2 separate regions of the Homo sapiens genome follow, and region 2 is linked to region 1. The links are contacts of gene promoters, found by promoter capture Hi-C in blood cells and fetal thymus (Javierre and others, 2016). All regions are on one chromosome and are shown on one strand. Each heading gives the region's core, a stretch centred on a gene start or on the middle of the fragment in contact. The rest is flanking DNA. Distances are from core to core; before and after follow the strand shown. Region 1 holds the start of CT75 (cancer/testis associated transcript 75). Region 2 has its middle 28 kb from the start of SGPP2.

What was found. The method cuts DNA at HindIII sites, captures the fragments that hold promoters and counts their contacts. A CHiCAGO score of 5 or more calls a contact.
Region 2: a contact is called between a fragment that was not itself captured here and the fragment with the promoter of CT75 in region 1, in 1 of 17 cell types (M1 macrophages). The highest score is 5.1, in M1 macrophages.

What each region holds. Positions count from the first base shown.
Region 1 is chr2:222,316,359-222,321,675 of GRCh38, forward strand. CT75 (cancer/testis associated transcript 75) reads left to right here and starts at 2,113. Exons shown (of 4, transcript NR_136642.1): 1 at 2,113-3,012. It overlaps RNF228 (ring finger protein 228), which reads right to left and starts at 3,797. Exons shown (of 1, transcript NM_001395871.1): 1 at 1-3,797. The coding sequence starts at 3,707. The coding sequence ends at 2,670. RefSeq lists enhancers at 1,806-2,401, 2,178-2,227 and silencers at 2,698-3,027, 3,668-3,977. The HindIII fragment of the contact is 3,961 bases long and covers 1,869-5,317 here.
Region 2 is chr2:222,394,071-222,399,981 of GRCh38, forward strand. No RefSeq gene overlaps it. Among named protein-coding and RNA genes, the nearest start is that of SGPP2, 28 kb to the right of the region's middle. RefSeq lists an enhancer at 1-279. The HindIII fragment of the contact is 5,004 bases long and covers 774-5,777 here.

The DNA of each region.
Region 1 (5,317 bases), core at 863-3,362:
TGATCTGCTAAGTGTGTCTCTTTGACTTCAAAGTATTCTAACTCAAATTTCAATTACATGAAATTTACACGTGCAATCTATAATAGAAGCAAAATGTGGCTTCTGTTGCCATCGAGGTGATTCAAGAATGTATTTCTCAGTTATGAGGAATCTTTTAGGTTACATTATTGGCATACTTCTCTGGAGCACAAATAAACTCTAAAAAGAAACCTGGTGCCCAAAGTAACCTTAGACAGACTTCTAGGTTGCCAGTTTAGCACACATAAAAAACTCATGTGTGTGTACACATGTACAATGGTTACAGCCACAAAGCCAAGTTGTTACCAGTATGCATATATTTTATACATAATATATCTTTAAACATAAACCTAATACATACATATATACATGTGTAGCTGCACTTGTGCAACTCAACAGTTTTTAGTGCAAACAGAATCTTAGTAATGGAGGTAAATAAAGAATGAATAAGAGGTAAAAATGGATATAGAAGTAAAACACAAGACATGGGGGTATAAATAAATTAAAACTAAGTTCTGAAAAGTGACTTTTAGTAATAGAAACCTAAAAACATTTCATAGAAGGCAAGAACAAAGTCTGACAACAGAGTTTAGTTTTAGTGGACATTGTGGTAGTAAATATGTAAGTTACTTCTCTCTTCAGAATACAACAGATCTCACTGGGCCTTCCAGGGTCATTATTCCTAGAAATAATCCCACTAAATGCCCATCTTAGCAACGCACATTTCCATGTGTGAGTTATTTCTCTCTCAGCCCCATTTAAAAATGTGAAATTTGGATTTAGAAGGGGACATGTATTTAAGGAAGAGAAGTGCCACACAAATAATGGAGCAATTTTACCATGAAATTAATGTCATGAAAATAGATATTTCTATAAATACCTCTTGTTTTTATTATTAAGACAATGCAGACATAAAACACTTCATACTGTAGTTTCTACATTGCAGCCAAACCACTTATCAATGGCCAATAAATTACTTCACTCCTATGATAGATACAAATGCTCGATTCAAGTTCAATTAATAGAATAGTGTCAGGATATCATGCAGACAGCTTGCATAAATACTCGAGGAATAATAGCATACCTTCAGTAGATTCTGTGATTTTTAAGCATGAAAACTTTGTCTTATTCCAAATTTCAAAAGATGGAATAAAGAATGTTTTCATATAAAATACATTTGGAACAGTTTTCCTTCTTAAAAAAAAAGGCATCTAACCCACTTGCAACATATACTGGCAATTCATCTTTGTAGTTACAAAATCAGATAGATATATATTCTTTTTCATCTCATGTGACTGTATGTGAACATTTCAGTAATTCCAACAATATCAAACAGCTAAATTCAAAATCATATAATACTTTCTAATAAGTGTATACGATATATATCTTTTGTAGCCAAAGGCAGAAAGACCTTCAGTTAGTTGATTTCATGTTTGGGCACTAGTTTATATTTTATCAGATAATTAAAAGTCATTAGTTATTTCACAGTATAAAATATTGAATCAATTACCAACAGGCTTTTATTTTCTGCTCCTAATTTCGAAATGTATTTGGACTCGAGGTATGGGAATAATGTCACTGCTTATCAAACAATTTTCTGGAAATCTTAATGCACAAAAATTTCCAGATTTATATATTCAAAAATAAATTATATGTTAAATGAAATTAAGAAAAAAAGGCGAGGGGAAGGAGAAAATCTAGTTTATATTCTGTGTGAATAGCTTTCAATATCTTCCAGGTGGGGGCAACCGTAAGCCACTTTTGAGAGAAGGGAGAACAGGCTCTTTAAGCTCCCTGAGTCTAGTTACAGAAGACTTCCTGGCAGTAACACCGTGAATAAAACAACCACAAGCTTCCAGGAGATGAGACTTCTAGGCTCTGCTCCAGACAACACCCGGCCATGGGCAACAGGGCCCACCGCCCTGGGCGCGCCGCAGCCTCGGCCACTCCGAGTCGGCTCCGATCGCGCACGCGCGCCGTGCACCTGCCCCATCGCGCCCAGCTGCTGCCTGAGCTCCGGGCACGCCCGCGCTGTGCCGGCGGGGAGTGTCCGTCACTCTCAGCGCTCAGGATCTCTCCCTTTCCAGGACCGCTAGGAAGCAGGAAATCCTTTTCCTCTCACGTTTACATCCCATTCATTCTTCCTCCGGGCAATTCAAGTCCATTCACAGCCGCCACAGATGCACGTGTGCACGCGCGCAGCTGCACCTTTAAAGAAACTCTCAAGTCCTGGCGGCCAGAAAACCAGCTTTCAGGCGGGGCGGTGGGGCTCCCCCTCCCCTTGCTTCGTCTCTGCAGATCTTTGTGCTCTAGGGAGGGATGGCCGCACATTCTGACGAGGACGAGGGTGGTGCATAACGCGGAGGTCAATTTTGCACAGTCCAGGCAAAAGAGACCCCCCCCCCCCACCAACATCCCTTCCTGTTCAGTTTCCCTCTCTGGCCCAGCGCGAAGGGCGAGGGGCGACAGAAGCCCGAGGGACAGAAAACCGAGGCTCCTCAGTGGCCGAGTTGGGAGAGAGTGTGAGTCCAGGAGAGCCCGGGGGCAGCAGGGAGAGGGTGCAGAAGCTCGAGCGCACCGAGCCAGAGGCCCCCTCTTCTCCCGCCACGCGGGGCTGGAGGTGCAGGCGCCGGTTCCGCGGCGTGGCCCGGCTATGTGTCGCTCCTCCGCGCGCCGCCCGCCGCAGCCCGTGCCCTCGGGCCGCCGCCGCCGCCGCTGCCCCCCGTCGAGCCCGCGGCCGCACCCTCGGGCCGATACTTGAGCCAGCAGATGACCCAGGTGACAACGACCGAGAAGAGTGCCAGGATGCTGGCCACCGACAGGCAGATGGGCCCCACGGGCGAGGGCGAGGGCGACCCGGTGGCCGGTGCCTCGCCAGGGGGCGCCCCGCCTCCGGGGGTTCCCCCGCCGCCGTAGTGGTTGACGAAGATGAGGCCGGTGAAGAGCAGCACCACCATGGAGAGGAAGGAGAAGACCACGCACACGCAGCCAGCGGTGAGCGCCGCGCGCTTGCAGTTCTGGCAGCTGTCGTAGGCGCCCGGGGCGCGCAGGCCGGGGCGGGCTCGAGGCCCGGGGGCCGCGTCCTCGGCAGGCGGCGGCGGCGGCGGCTGCGGTGGGGCGGGGGAGGGCGGCGGTGGCGGGGCCGGGGTGGGCGGCGGGGCAGCAGCGGGCGCGGGCAGGCGCGCGGGCAGCGGCGGGAGGCGGTCCTGGGGCAGCGGGTCGTGCGCTGCGCGCAAAGCCAGCGGGAAGGCCTCGGCTAGCTTGGTGTTGTTGGGCAGGCCGTGCACGCGGCTGTCGGGCAGCGGCGTGCGGTGGCGGCACACCGGGCACGCGATGGCGCCGGGCGGGCAGAGCCAGGGCGGCGGGCGCGGCGGGCGCTCAGGCGCGGCGGCAGCGGCGGCGGCGGCGGCGGCGCGGAGCTGCAGCTGGCTCAGGCACTCCTGGCAGAAGGTGTGCAAGCACGCCAGCAGCTTGGGCGCGCGCCGGTCCGCGTCGAAGTAGTTGTAGCAGATTTTGCACTCGTAGTCCTCAAGCGGAGGGAGGCCGGAGACCGTCTCCGCTGCGTCCCGGGCTCCTGCGTCTCCGCAGTCCGGGGCTCCCTTCGCGGCGACCCCAGCTCCCTCCCGGCTCCCGGGGCTGCTGCTTGGGCTCTGCTGGCTGCCGCCGCTGTCGCTCGCCGGCGCTGCCATGGCATGATCCGCCCCTCATCGGGGGCAAGGTGAGGTGCCTTCCTCCCCCTGCACCGCCGCCTGGGCTCCGGGCGGGGAGGAGGCGCTTCTGCCTCCCCCCTCTGACTGCTGTCGCCTGGCGGGGGAGGCACCGCTGGCTGGGCCAGGCGGGGGCGCAGCAGCGACCGCCTCCCCCTCCCGCCTCCCCGTCCCCCGCCCCCGGCGCGTGCACCACGGTCCCTCCCCGTCCCTGGGCTCCTCTGCAGTCCCCCTCGGCCTTCTCAACGCAGCTTTCCCAGCAGCTTAGGATATCGGTTTTTGTTGGACTTGAAATTGGGAGTTGAGGGCGGCCTGGAGGCGCTCGGGAAGGAGATTTGGGGTGCGGCTGCTTATAAAGATGTTGCCTTTTACCCCAGCAGTCCCCCGCCCCCTACGCGGGGTGGTGGCAGGAAACCGGTTCCTGAGTTTTCCTTCTTTCTCTTCCTCGACACGACCTCCCCACCAGTGTGTTTCTGTTTATCCTCCTCGCCCGGGGGCTGGGTCCCTGGCGAAGCCTCGTTTTCACCCACCCACCCCCAAGCCAGAGCTCACCAGTGATGTAATGCGGGACCCGCGCGGGGAGGGGAAACGGCAGCCTCAACCGCCTGGCAGCGGCGGTTTCTTCTCTTCGTGAAAATCGTGATCTCATCTCTCCGTCCATGGGCGAAAAAACAGCCATCACCAGGCCATTCACGCTTTGTGCTTTTGTTAGCAGAGCCCAGGCAGCCCTGCAGCCCACATCTAGGGTACAAACGGAACGGCGGCGTTTTCCTTGTATCATTTAGAGGAAATTTTTGAGCTGAACAGTATTTTTTTTCTCCCTCTCTCTCTCTCTGAAATATTGCTGAGATTTAAAGGAGGACGAAGACAACAGATTCATAGCTGGGTCTTGCTGTTTTCCTGACGCTGACCACAGCGGATCTAGGTGGCTATTTCGTTGGTGCACAGGCGTTCACAGAGGCAGAGAGGGGAGAAAGTTGTCAAACAGATTCACAGACTGTCAAAGTGCGGCTTAAACCGAGTTCCTGGGCTCCCTCACTGGCTTCGTCCACTTAAACTTTTAACGTACACATGTAGAGAGCTGAAACTCCAGGGGTAACATGGGACAGGTCCTCTTGATTTAATGAAAACAGAAGATCAACTGGACCGGGTAGCAAGAAATAAGGCTTAAGAAGCACTGGGTAGGTGACAGGAGTGGTGGGCTTGAGGACCAACTGAGGGGTGGTGTTCAGATACTCCTAACCAGAAAGTCTGTCCCCCGATTTCTCCAGGTTGGGCCTCACCCTATGAGCAGGGAACCCACCTTCCCCCTCAACAAAAGAAAAGATGACTTTGGAATGTTCTGGATTCCCACAGCTGGGAATGTTCCTACTTTTTTTTCAGTTTCTCTGCAGAAGACAGCAAGATGCCCCAGGGAATGTTTGTGAAAAAGGATGACTGGATGGGAAGCAAGCTGAAGAAAAAGAAGGAAAGAAAGAGAGAAATCAGTAAATCACCACACAAGAGGTGGAGAAGAGGACTTATAAATATTGTTTCTATGACATTTGAAAATAAATGTTTTACTCCATGCTAATAGTGAATGTGATGTCTTC
Region 2 (5,911 bases), core at 2,026-4,525, 79 kb after region 1:
TTGCTGTGATAGGCAAAAGCTTTGCTGTCCTCAAGGAGTGAATTTCTTAGCAGTCCTTTATTATGCTAACAAAAGGCATGGATCGCCAGGGACATCTGACCTTCTTACATATTCAAGAAATGTATCCTTAAAATCCATCAATAAGCTGGAAGAAGGTGATAATTGAAAAAGTTTTTAACATCAATAACAAGGCTCCAGTTGTTTATTCAATGATCAATGGTGAAATATGACAAAACAGTTCCCAATCAAGATGATGATAATAGTGATGATGAAGATGATGTCAACACTACAGGAAAAGTATCTATTGACAACATGGTGAAAATGTGTGGTGGGCTTTTTGAAGGACTACAGCAGTGTATATTTATAACAAGACAAGAAACCTTCTCAGTTTATAAAATCAAGAAAAGACATCTAAGCAAAAACTCATTGTTAATGAGGCAGATTATTCTGGAGAAAACATTTTTAAAAGCCATCCTGCAGAATGCCTCTTCATTCCTAGAGGACCTATTTCCTGGTCCCTCAATTACTTTTGATGTTTCTTCTTACCAAACAAAAAAAAAGAAAAAGAAACACACTGTCTAGTAACCTTTTAGTCAAAGAAAAGCATCAGGTGGAGGTTGCAACCTATCACTGTTTGTTGTTGCCGTTGTCTAACAGCTGAGACAGGTATTCTGGTGATGCTACTGTGCTACTTAGTTATTCTGCACACAATATTTCTTCATTGTATTAATGGCATATCATATGTTTTAATGTTAAGTATTTATGTGTGAATAAGCTTAAGAAAATTATTGCTTATGAGTAGCATATCAGTTTAGAGCCAGGGATGATCGTGATGCCAAACAATCAGATTGTTCACATGGGTGGCTAAGATTGTGACAGCTTTGCTTCCTGGTGGCTCAATGCACAAAAACTTTGTTTCATGCACAAAATTGTTTAAAATATTGTGAAACTGCCTTCAGTCTACGTATATAAGGTGTATAGGAAATATAAATAAATTTTGTGTTTAGACTTGGGTCCCATCCCCAAGATATCTGATTATATATATGCAAATATTCCAAAATCTGTAAAAAAAAAAAAATTCCAAATCCAAAATACTTCTGGTCCTAAGCATTTTGGATAAGGGATATTCAACGTGTATTAACAATGACCAGCATACAAGCTAGGCATGGTGGCTCACACTGTAGTCCCAGCTACTCAGGAGGCTGAGGCGGGAGGATCACTTGAACCTGAAAGTTCAAGGCTGCAGTGAGCTATGATTGTGCCACTGCACTCCAGCCTGGGAGTGAGACTTCATCTCTAAAGAAAAAAATGGCAGAATACAATGAAAAAAATACTTGATATGCAAAGAAGCAGGAAAATGTGCCATAACCAGGAAAGAAAAATTTAGCAAAGTTCTCCCATCTTTGCATCCTCAATGGCAATGACCAGATGTTGAATTTAACAGACAAGCACTTAAAAATAGCTATTATAAATATATCCATGGATGTAAAAGAAAATATGCATATAATGAGACATAAAAATGGGGAATATTAATGTAGTAATGGGAATTCTAAAAATTAGTAATACCACATTTGAAACAAAAAAGTTATATTTTCAGGAAATAATAGATGGAATTAATAGCAGATTGAAAATTGCAGAGAAAAAGATCCATGCACTTGAATAAGAAACAATAGAACCTATCTGGATTAGTCTGCTAGTAATACATAGCAAAATACCACAGACTGGGTGGTTTAAACGAGACAAATTTATTTTGACAGTTCTGAAGCTGGAAGTCCAAGATCAAGGTGTCAGCAGGGTTAGTTTTCTCTAAGGCCTCTAACTTTAGATGACCACCCTCTTGCTACCTCTTCATATGGGTGTCTGCTGTGCACATATACCCTTGGTGTCCTTTCTCTTCTTATAGGACATCAGGCAGATTGGATAACTCTGATATTCTCATTTTATTTTATTATTTTATTTATTTTATTTTATTTTAATTATAGGCTTCTCAGCTGTCATATTTTCATTTTAACTCAGTCCCCTCTTTAAGACCTTATCTCAAAACTTGATTACACACTGAGGTACTAAGGGTTGGGAATTCAAAATATGAATTTGAGGTAGGGGCACAATTTAGCCCATAATACTATCTAAGAAGCTGAAGAAAAAAGATAGGGGGAAAAGCTGGAAAAAAAGAAAAAGAAAAGCATCTTAGTAACTTATGGCAAATATTAAGCATTCCAAAACATGTGGAAGTATAGTCCCAGAATGAGAGGATTCAAATATTAGAACAGAAAATATTTGGAGAAGTAATGACCAGAACTTTTCCCAATTTGATGAAAGATATCTGAAAGCTCAGCAAAACCCAAGCAGGCAAGTTCCAAAGAAAACCACACCTAGATATATATTAGTCCAATTCCTGAGTCTTAGAAGTAGCCAAAGCAAAAAGGTTTTACAATCAGGGAAGTAAACATAAGAATGACCACAGTCTTCTCATCAGAAAAAATGGAGACCTAAGCATAAGAAGATGACATCTGAAAAGTATTAAAAGGAAAAATCCCTGTCAACTCAGAATTTTTTTTTTGACAGAGTCTAGTTCTGTCACCCAGGCTGGAGTGAAGTGGCATGATCTCGGCTCACTGCAACTCTGCTTCCTGGGTTCAAGTGATTCTCCTACCTCAGCCTCCTGAGTAGCTAGGACCATAGGCACACGCCACAACGCCCAGCTAATTTTCGTATTTTTAGCAGAGATGGGGTTTCACCACATTGGCCAGAATGGTCTTGATCTCCTGACCTTGTGATCCTTCCGCCTTGGCCTCCCAAAGTGCTGGGATTACAGGTGTGAGCCACCGCGCCTGGCATCAACTCACTCAGAATTCTATATCCAGCTAAAATACATTGCAATACAAAAGCAAAATAAAGACCTTTTCATGTAAATGAAAGCTGAGAAAATTTATCTCAAAAGGCCCACATTGTAAGTTTTTCAGGCTTAAAGGAAATCCTACCAGCAGGAAAGTTGAATCTTCACAAAGGAATGAAAAACACAGAAAATGATAAATATATAGGTAAATAAAAATAAGTTTTGTTTCTGGTAGGACAAATCCCTTTATTCCTTCCCCTCCTCATCATTCTTCCTCTCTCACCTCTTCCTCCTTTGTCTTCAGGAGTAATATCTTAGCTATTCTTGGCTTTTTTTTTCTATCAGTTTTAGAATCAGCTTGTGTGATAGACATAGATTTGCTTTCATAGGCCTCCTTCAAGGAAGAATTTGCTGGCAGGCTGAAAGGAGTACAGTCAGCAGACAGCCCCCAAATATCACTTTCTTTAAGATTAGCCTCAGCTTCAGAGAACCACCTACACAGAGACTTGGCCTTTCCAGGGCAGCCTTTATCTGGTGATTAAGTGGGATGAGGAATATTTTGGCCTGAAGTAGGATGCTCTGAAGGGCAGTACTTTTCTCAGAGCTCACCACAGGGTTGGTTGAGACTTGTCAAGGCTGCATCAGAGTTTAACATCTTCCTCTGTCCAATCCTGCTTCCTCCCTGTTCCTTTCACACCTTCCTAGTTGATATGGTTTTGATCTGTGTCCCCGCTCAAATCTCATGTCAAATTGTAATCCCCAATGTTGTAGGTGGGGCCTAGTGGGAGGAGATTGGATCATAGGGGTGGATTTTCCCCTTGGTACTGTGTCATGATAGTGAGTGAGTTCTCTTGAGAGCTGGTTAAAAGTGTGTGGCACCTCCTCCCTCACTCTCTCTTTCTCCTACTCCTGCCATGTAAGACGTGCCTGCCCCCATTTCTGCTATGATTGTGGTAAGTTTCCTGACACCTCCTCAGAAGCCAAGAAGATGCCAGCATCAGGCTTCCTGTACAGCCTGTGGAAACATCAGCCAACTAAATCTCTTTTCTTTATAAATTACCCAGTCTCAGGTATTTCTTTATAGCAATGTGAGAACTGACTAATATACTTGTAAACATCTAGCACCCCAAACTCCATCTCAACATCTGCTTTTGGAGTACACAAACTATCAAGTCCCTTGAAAAAACTTATTAGAATTTTCATAGCAAATGAATTGATAGTATAGAACAAGTTAGAAGTGACATTTTTTAACACTGAGTTTTCATATTTATCCATATGACATATTTCTTCACTTATGTCTTCTTTAGTATCTTTCAATTAAGTTTTCACATTTCTTATTAAAGGTCTTGCCCATATTTTGTTAGATTATTTTCTCCTATGTAGCTAGGAGAAAATATTTTTGACTGCATTTATATATGCACACACATATATATGTTTAAAGTAAGTTTTCTGAAGGTTGCAAGTTTGTGAAACTGTAACTGGCTTTTGTGTATTGATGATATGTACTTTCTTATTCATACACAGGGCAGAAAGCTATTTTGATACCCTGACCACCAAACAAAAGGATTGAGCTTTGCTCTGATTGAATCACTGGGATCACATGCCCATTCCAAAATGAATGACTGAAGCTGGGAAAATGCTGCATGTTGATTGGTTGGACCTGGGTTACATAGTGCACTGATCTCTGTGGCAACAGAGGTAGAATTATGCAACTATTGGAGGCCAATCAGGAGCCACAGCAGGATCGCATGGCTAGGAAACTGAGGGTCTGATTAGGAAAGATGAGTGGAGGATTTGTTGCTCAGGAAGGGGCCCATTATGTCCACTACTCTGGAAAACACTTCTGTTGCTGTAGGACCCTGGATGCCCCAGTTCCACCAAAACACTGGATTCATTAGAGCAGCAGCAGCAGCAATCTCAACAGCACTTTAGAATGTCACCAAGGTTACAAAGTCCAGGCATGTGATTGGTTATAAAAAGATTTTTCTTATCCCTGAATAATTAACCATTTCATTCCAGAATAAAGAAAATATAATGTTTCCACCACTCAGCAAATATTTGGATGAATTCTTATTTATGTTTAACTCGATCTACATTCAAGACAAAAAAGACAAGCGTTGTTTCTGCCAGACATTCTGTTTTGATATATTATTCTATTTCCACAGTATCCAATGGTTTTATTAATCCCATTTTATAGATGAGACAGCTAAGCCTCAGAATAATGATGTGGAGTCTTGCCCCAGGTGATACAGCTACTAAGATATTGTGACTCAGAATTGAGCATCTAGTGATCCTAAGTCACAGAGCACAGTCAGGTGAATTGGATCTTACTGTCTTAAAACAAATGGTCCCTGTTATCGTGAGCTATTCTGAGGATAGAAATTGTTGCTATGTATACAGTATCATTTGCATTATCTGATTATCAGATCTCACATTTCCATGAGCGTTTTCTTTCACTGCCACATTGACAATTTTGTGTTCTTTTTTCCAATGTTCCCAGTAAGTAGAAAAGCAGTACAAGATATTTTAGTTTTGTCAAATAGGAGCCTGACAGCCAGTATACAGTCGTTTATTATTACAACTGTGTCCCAGGGCACCTCATTGCAGCTATTTTGCAAGGTATTTTTAGCTTCATGCATATGGTCCTGTGTCAGCCCATTTGTTATCTGAAGAGCCAAACACTCGTGTATTTTTAGCAACATGATTACTCTGCTTCCTTTATCTGCAGAAGCCCATCTCTTTGCCAATTACAGGATCCATTAGTTGACCAGCTGCCATATGAGCTCTGCTCCTGACATTAGATGTGTTTTTCTCCTTACGATAATATTTAGAGGAGAAGCTATTCTTTCCTGGAGCAGCACAAGTTTTGCCAAACAATATACCTGAAGTAAATGATTCACTTATATAATCTTTATTAATCTAATTAAAGTTGGCATGATAAAGCTTTTTTTTTTAATTTTGGGATTAACATATTCAGATCTGAACTGTTTGAGAAAAAAAAATGGATCAGAATCCATTTTAATGGTAAGTGTCACATAAACCAAGCACATAATCATTTTGTTAAAAATATCCCAC